3 separate regions of the Homo sapiens genome follow, and regions 1 and 2 are each linked to region 3. The links are contacts of gene promoters, found by promoter capture Hi-C in human tissues and cell types (Jung and others, 2019). All regions are on one chromosome and are shown on one strand. The core of a region is centred on a gene start or on the middle of the fragment in contact, and the rest is flanking DNA. Distances in the headings are between cores, read along the strand shown.

Region 1 (2,701 bases), core at 125-2,624, 200 kb after region 3:
CCAGGCTTCTTTTTTAATGAAAAAAGGGTTGGCATAAATACAGCCAACTGATCTTCAACAAAGCAAACAAAAACATAAAGTGGGGAAAGCACACCCTATTCAACAAATGGTGCTGGGATAATTGGCAAGCCACATGTAGAAGAATGAAACTGGATCCTCATCTCTCAACTTATATACAAAAATCAACTCAAGATGGATCAAGGACTTAAATCTAAGACCTGAAACCATAAAAATCCTAGAAGATAACATCAGAAAAACCCTTCTCGACATTGGCTTAAGCAAAGACTTCATGACCAAGAACCCAAAAGCAAATGCAACAAAAACAATGATTAACACATTCATTGAGGAGAAGGGTGGCAGAGCAGTTCCCTGAGCACTGACAGTCAAGGACAGTTTGTTCAGTGAGGCTTTAGACTGGAGAGAAGATAAGTGAAAACAGAGACAGAGGTGACAGCCAGCCTGCAGGAGCCACTACAGATACCCGGAGTATGAGTCATCAGTCAGACACCCTTCCTGTGCCATCTGGCCAGATGAGAGGCCAGGTCCTCAGAGACCAGAGCATCTATACCCAGCTGTTGAGATGATGCTGCACTTGCGGTAGACCATGAGGGAGTACTTCATGCAGCTGATGAGCAGGCAGGGCCCTGCCGCTGGAAGAATGGAGGCACACTCAGGCCATCCGTGAGCATGAAGCCCTTCTGGGTCGCTTAATGTGCCAGATGATCCAGCTCCTATAGTCTGGGGCCATAAGTGGCCTGGAGCTCCAAGTGCCTCTTCCTTCCCAGGACTCTAGGGGTGATGTCAGATATGGGCAGGGGGCCCAACTGTCCAGGCAGCCTGATCCAGTTCCCCAACTGAGTGATTGTGAAGCTGCCTTCATCAGCCGTGACCTATCCAACTGTGGGATTGACATCTCTGTCTTCTATTAGTCGAGCTTCCAGGACTACAATGCCTACCAAAAAGACAAATATCATAAGGACAAGAACACCTTGAGCTTCGTTAACCTTGGCACCAGTGAGAACAAGCTCTGCATAGATCTGATGACTGAAAGATTGCAAGAAAGTGACACGAACGGCATTGAGGACATCTTGCTGCAGTACCCTGATTGGAGAGGGCACCCGTTCCTGCAAGAAGAAGTGGCCCAGTTCCTGACCTACTAGTGCAAGGCACCTGCCCGACTTGATCCAGAAAATGTGGTTGTTCTAAATGGCTGCTGCTCTGTCTTCTCTGCACTGGCCATGGTTCTGTGTGATCCAAGCGAGGCCTTCCTGGCGCCTGCTCCCTTCTATAGTGGCTTTGACTTTAGCTCCTGCCTGTACGTGAAGGTTGAGTTGATTCCTGTCCACCTGGAGAGTGAGATCACTGTTGCAAACACCCATCTGTTCCACCTTGCTGTGGACAAGTTAGAGGAAGCCCTGCTTAAAGCTAGGCCTGAGAGGAAAAAGGTCCGAGGCCTTGTGCTAATCAACCCTCAGAATCTTCTGGGTGACATCTACTCCTCAGACTCGCGATGGAATACCTGGAATTTGCCAAGAGGTATAACCTACATGTGATCATAGATGAGATTTACATGCTATCTGTGTTTTTGATGAATCCATCACATTCCACAGTGTCCTAAGCATGAAAAGTCTGCCTGATCACAACAGGACCCATGTGATCTGGGACACCAGTAAGGATTTTGGCATCTCTGGCTTCCTCTTTGGTACTCTGTTTACACCCACCACAAGGAGATGGCTTCTGCTGTGAGCACCTTTGGCTACCTCCACAGTATCTCTGGCATCACCTAGCACAAGCTGTGTCAACTGCTCCAGAACACAGAATGGATTGACAAAGTGTACCTGCCCACCAATAACTACCGGCTGTGGGAAGCTCACAAGTACATCACTGCCAAGCTAAAGGCATTGGAGATCCCCTTTCACAGCTGCAGCTCTGGCCTCTATATCTGGATCAACTTGAAAAAGTACCTGGATCCCTGTACATTTGAAGAGCAACAGCTCCTCTCTCCGCTTCCTGGACAACAAGCTGTTGTTATCCTGTGGCAAAGCCTGTATGTATAAGGAGCCAGGCCGGTTCCACCTCATCTTTGCAGACGAGCTCCCCCCGGCTAAAATTGGCCATACATCAGTTCTGTGGTGTGCTGCAGGAACAGAAGCAGGCTTTGCTAGTGAAGCAGTTGGAAGATGCATTGAGGGAGTAGACTGTCTGCCTCCCAACGAGTAGCTCTAGCCCATCACTTGCTCAGGGACCCCCTAATGTCAGCCCCTGGTCCAGAAGCCTGGGGTGTATTTTTGTCAGTGCTGCAACTAAGAAAATTGTGGGCTCCTCCAGGAAGATCTCATCTGACCCAGTCATCACCCTCCTTAAGCTGAGTGCCTGCTGTCTTTGGAAGCTTTGCATCTTTTTAGTGTTTGCTAGATATTATATATGCAAAATGTTTTTATTGGGGTTGGGGTGGGAAGGCCTGGAGGCACCTACAGAAATAAAGGAAGCTCCCTGGGCCCCTATTTAGATGGTTTATTTTTATATTCAATATCTAATAAATTCTATGTTCTCTTAAAAAACTGATAAATAGGTGGAACTTAATTAAAAGTTTCTGCGCAGCAAAAGCAATAATCAGCAAAGTAAACAGACAACCCACAGAGTGGGAGAAAATCTTCACACTCCGTACATCTGACAAAGGGCTAATATACAGAATCTACAA
Region 2 (2,700 bases), core at 158-2,657, 160 kb after region 3:
AAAATTTCTTCAAAACTATAAGGAACAATAAAACAATATTCGGTGGACACATAAAGGAGGGGAATACAGGGTCTGGTTTTCCCAGTTTCGCTAGCGTAAGATACATTTTGACCAGCCTGGGCAACATGGTGAGACCCCATCTCTGCTAAAAATATAAAAATTAGCCAGGCATGGAAGCGAGCACCTGTAATCCCAGCTACTCTGGAGGCTGAGACAGGAGAATCACTTGAACCTGGGAGGTAGAGGTTACAGGGAGCCAAGATCGCGCCACTGCACTCCAGCCTATGCGAGAGAGCAAGGTACATTTTTACACACAGTGTTAAAACTGATCCTTTCTAGCCAGGAGTGCAGCCAGGGGACGTGACCAATTCAGTCAGAGGCAGGACAAGAGCCCAAGGAACCTGACTTCTAGTCTAATGCATCTTCCACTTACATCAGTATGCAAATGATTCAGTTGTCATTCATAATGACATTGACAGCACCCTGCATATAAATGACAACTTTCCTGTCTTCATGAAAATGCCTAGCTCCCTTTATTAAAAAATAAAAGATTGTAATGTCCCAATATCTTCATGAGTGTTGTGCTAAACGTTTGATAGTCAGTGACATCTGATTCCACTAAATAGGAATTTATAAAAATACATCAAAGATATATGCCTGTTTTATATATCTTCAGTGTTAAAAGACTGAAATAACCATCTTAATGCTGTTTAGACTAGATTTAATAAACATCAAATAATTATCAATACATAAATATGCTATCACGTATCCCTAAGTTTATAGTCACATGATTTGACTTACCAAAAAACCAAAATATTAAAATAACAAGCTATTTGTTACATTGTTGTTTAATATTGGGACTCTGTTAGCATAGTTTTACTAAAAGGGAGCCAAATACATGCTGGGGAAAGATACTAGAAAGCACATTCTACCTATGTAATGAAATATTCTAATAGCAGAATTATGTAACAATGTGCAAATACCTTTAGAAGAAGCTTGTGATGTTTGCTTGAAGTATTGATGCCTTTTTTATTAATACAGAACGAAATAAAGAATTTTGAAAGGGAAAATGAGTATGAATCCACACTTTGTGAAGATGCTTATGGCACACTAGACAATTTGTTAAATGGTAAGTATCTACTTGTTAGCAATATGCAAAAGAGAGAAACTTTTTTTTGTGTTCCGTGATAGTAACAATAGCCAGGTTTTGTGCTAAGCACTTTATATACATCATCACACTTAATCCACAAAAAAATCTTATTGAAATAAGAATTTTAAAAAATTGAAGTAAGGGCTGTTTTTATCTTCATTTTACAGATAAGGAAAATAAGGCTCAGAGAGTAACTTGCCCAGGATTGTGTAGCTTTAAATGAATGAGCCGTGATCAAGTCTCAGACTCAGACACAAAAATTTTCTACTATACAAGTATCCTTAAATGTGTATTGAGGTTGGGTGTGGTGGATCATATCTATAATACCAGTGCTTTGGAAGGCCAAGGCAGGAGGATTGCTTGAGCCAGGAAGTCCAAGGCTGTTATGAGCTATGATCATGTCACTGCACTCCAGTGGGCAACAGAAGGAGAACCTGTCTCTTAAAAAAAAAAAGCGGGGGCCAGGCACGGTGGCTCACGCCTGTAATCCCAGCACTTTGGGAGGCTGAGGCAAGTGGATCACCTGAGGTCGGGAGTTCAAGACCAGCCTGACCAACATGGAGAAACCCCGTCTCCAGTAAAAATACAAAATTAGCTGAGTGTGGTGGTGCATGCCTGTAATCCCAGCTACTTGGGAGGCTTAGGCAGGAGACTCCCTTGAACCCAGGAGGTGGAGGTTGCTGTGAGCCGAGATTGCACCATTGCGCTCCAGCCTGGGCAACAAGAGCGAAACTCCATCTCAAAAAAAACCAAAACAAACAAAAAACACCAGGTACAGTGGCTCACACCTGTAATCCCAGCTCTTTGGGAGGCCAAGGCAGAAGGATTGCTTGAGTCCACTAGTTTGAAATCAGATTGGGCAATAGGACGAAACCCCGTCTCTACTAAAAATACAAAAAATTAGCCAGGCATCGTGGTCCATTTTGGAGGCCTGGGTGGGAGAATTACCTGAGCGCGGGAGGCTGAGACTGCAGTGAGCCGAGATCACGCCACTGCACTGCAGCATGGGCAACCATAGTGAGACCTTGTCTCAAAAAAAAAAAAGAGAGCTGTGTGTTGATTTAACCCCAAATCTGTTATTCTAATCCTAAATTGACAGATGAAAGCTATTTAGGATTTAATCATATAATGAGATACATTGATCATGTTTTTGGTTTTGTTTTTGAAATGGATCTCACTATGCTGCCCAGGCTGGTCTCAAATTCCTGGGCTCAAGTGAGTCTCCTGCCTCGGTGTCCCAAAGTGTTGGGATTACAGGTATCAGCCACCACACCGGGCCCTACACTGATCATGTTTATTAAAGTAAATCTAAATGCTGTATACAAATGTCTTTATTTTTAATACTTGCAAATAATACTAAAATGAAAAGATTTGACAAGGCTTATTGAAATTATGGAATTTAATACATGCAGGTGTAAGAAAAATAAGCGCTGCCGAGGCAGGCGGATCACGAGGTCAGGAGATCGAGACCATCCTGGCTAACATGGTGAAACCCCGTGTCTACTAAAAATACAAAAAATTAGCCGGGCATGATGGTGGGCGCCTGTAGT
Region 3 (2,700 bases), core at 1-2,500:
TGGATCAAAGCAGACATGCGGCCGGCGCTCTGCGATCCAAGGCACACTGGGGTCTTTCATCCGGTGTTTTTAAAAAGGAGGAAACAAAAGGCTCAGAGGCAGGGCCCCAGGTGCGCTCGCCCGCGGGGGCTGCGGCGCGGACGACCGAAGGTAACAGGCACGTCCCGGCCGAACTTCGAGACCCGGGCCCGGCAGCCGCCCCGGCGGGGAAGTTTCGTTTCCCGGACAGGGGAAGCCGAAGCGCCTCCTCGGGACAGGACCCCGCGCCGCCGGGACGCGCAGCCTTGATACAAACGTCCTTGGGTGGCCGAGGAGTCCAGGAGTCGTTGCAGTCGTGGTCTCGGGGTTACTGGGGATTGGGGGTGAGCCGGTAGAGACTGCGGAGCCCCGAGCACCACTCGGCCACCAGACAGGACCGGGGCCCCGCTCCTTTCCTCTTTTACTTTGATTACGGTTGGAGAGGTTGGGTTTTGTGGTCGCAGCCCCACCTCGCCTGACCTCCCATTCGCGGGCTGGGACAAAGGCGGCTGCAGCCGTGTCCAGCAGGCAGGGGACAGCCCCGCGCGGGCCCGACGCCCCCTCTGACCACCCGCCCGGGCTCGCGGGAGGGGAGAAAGGTACGACCGAGTCCCTGTTCGCAGGACAGGGGCCAACCTGTCCCCGCACGCGTCAGGACACCCGGTCCTGCTCCCAGCGCGGCCGGGAAGTTCTTTCGGGACCTGGGGCAAAAAAACCTTTCCACCTTCGGGACCCGAGTCTCCCAGTCGTCCAGAGGAGGACGGTCCCTCCCTGTCCCGCGAGCCCCGCAGCCCGCGCTCTCCGGGCAGGTACCCACCAGTAGCCGTCCGAGTTCTGGTCGGTGATCACGCCGCGCCGAGAATAGTACATCCTGCTGGTGCCCCCGCCGCCGCTGGTCACCTCGTAGCGCAGGTCCGGGCCAGACTCGGCGCGGATCATGCGGCCCAGAGTGTTGATCCGCGGGTGGGAGCCTCCGTTGCAGCTCATGTCGGCGGGCAATCGGGAGAGCGGCTCAGCGCCGAGGCATAAGCGAGGCGGGCCGGCGCGGAGAAAGCGGAGGGGGCCAAGGATAGGCGGACGGCCGGGGAACCGGGCGGGAGTGCGGAAGGCTCGCGAGGTCGCTGCTCGCTACCTGGGCCCTCCCGAGGCCGCTGCGAGCGCGGAGACGGCGACGGGCCGGGGGCAGGAGCGGGAGGAAAGCTGTGGCTCGGAGGGCGGCAAGGGCGCAGAGGAGCTGCGTCGGAGCTGGGTGTTGGTGTTGGTCGGCGGCGGAGCGAGTCTCCTCCCCGCTGGCACTGGGCGCCTAGGCCACACCTGGCCGGTTTCTTCCCAGGGTGGGGTGCGGCCGCCGCGCCTTCCCCGCCCCCCCGCGGGTGTCACCGACGCGCTCCGGCCGCCCCTCCCCACCTGCGCCCGCCGCCCGCGACTCCGCCCTGCGCCACCGAGGCCTGAGTAACACCGGGCGGGGCGGGGGCGGGGTCCCCGAGACCCAAGCGCCCTGGGCGAAGCCACCGCGGGGAGGACCTGCGCTCGCGGGGGCTGCTGCGCTCTGCGCTGGGGCCTCTCGGGCTGGGAATGCGTGGCCCGGCTTTTGAGGATTTCCTCGGTCCCCGGGCGGAAATAGCTGGAATGGAGGGGCCTCTCGATTGGAGACTTACTGGTCAAATATTTACTTTTGTTGATCACTGGAAACGCTACCTACCACGCATTGACTAGGACCACAGTGAGGAGGGAACGCTTTAGATGATAGAGTTTTGTTTGGGGGCTTTTTTTTGTTTTGTTTTATTCCAGGAATTCAGGAAATTGCCCCAGAAGTCCGATTTCTGATGTGTAAAACCTTTTTTTACAGAAAACCACGACTTCCTGGAAAAGTCTTCACCGTAAATATTAATCTCTTTGGCATGAAGAGGAAAACACTGCAGCTAATTTTTCATGGGATAACAAAAATATAAACTGCAATTTCTTTTATTTTTTCCCTTTCGATGGTCTTTTTAAACGAGGAGTAAAGATTTCAACGCCAGGTCCATTTTCCAAATTTTGTACCAGAACCTTGAGGATGCTTGTCTCTCGCGCGCTTCTCCGCAGACCGAACCCTCTCCGGAACTCAGAGCTGTTCACCCAAGTCAGCGGAGGAGGCCTCCTGGGACTTGAGCCTGAGGGTGGCGAAGAACCCTAGGCAGAGATCATCAACTTGGTACCGATGAGTGACGCGGAGCTTGAACATTCCAGCGACTTGCTCCAGGGCCACTCCCAGTTAAGAGGCTGAGTGTTAACTGCAAGAGGCTGAGTGTTAACTACGCCGTTGGCTCCAGGAACCGAACCGGGTTTGGATACAGACCCAGTCACACCATCCATGAAAAGCTGTTTCTATAATATGAAAAATTGTTAAATGACGCTTTAGTAAAAGCCATTTAAAGATCTTTTCTAATAAATTTTTCATCTTTCCAAACAATGCCGCTAATTACCTTCTGATACAGTGCGTTTCCAAAATGTTTATGAACTGAAAACAAAAATAAAAAACTACATTTTTATGTTGTAAAGGGAGTGGGGGGGACTTTCTAAAATTTGTCGTATTATAGCACTTCTCATGACAACTTGACCCTTTAGGCATAATTTTTGACAAAATGTCTTGTTCTTTTTCTTTTTACAGCTGAACGTCTTAAATTCAAGGAGTAAACACAT

Evidence for each region. The method cuts DNA at HindIII sites, captures the fragments that hold promoters and counts their contacts. A contact is called where the count stands out against the background at its distance.
Region 1: a fragment that was not itself captured here is called in contact with the fragment with the promoter of DSP in region 3 in 2 of the 25 tissues and cell types used here (liver and mesendoderm cells).
Region 2: a contact is called between a fragment that was not itself captured here and the fragment with the promoter of DSP in region 3, in 1 of the 25 tissues and cell types used here (neural progenitor cells).

Annotation. Positions count from the first base shown.
Region 1 is chr6:7,340,297-7,342,997 of GRCh38, reverse strand. All of the region lies in intron 11 of CAGE1 (cancer antigen 1), which reads left to right. It also overlaps the pseudogene ACCSLP1. Among named protein-coding and RNA genes, the nearest start is that of SSR1, 28 kb to the right of the region's middle. RefSeq lists a silencer at 425-587. The HindIII fragment of the contact is 7,681 bases long and covers 1-2,701 here.
Region 2 is chr6:7,384,214-7,386,913 of GRCh38, reverse strand. CAGE1 (cancer antigen 1) reads left to right here. Exons shown (of 14, transcript NM_001170692.2): 3 at 1,042-1,129. Among named protein-coding and RNA genes, the nearest start is that of CAGE1, 4.2 kb to the left of the region's middle. The HindIII fragment of the contact is 6,466 bases long and covers 1-2,700 here.
Region 3 is chr6:7,540,221-7,542,920 of GRCh38, reverse strand. DSP (desmoplakin) reads right to left here and starts at 1,250. Exons shown (of 24, transcript NM_004415.4): 1 at 836-1,250. The coding sequence starts at 1,005. It overlaps DSP-AS1 (DSP antisense RNA 1), which reads left to right. Exons shown (of 2, transcript NR_183331.1): 2 at 1,868-2,470. The HindIII fragment of the contact is 11,377 bases long and covers 1-2,700 here.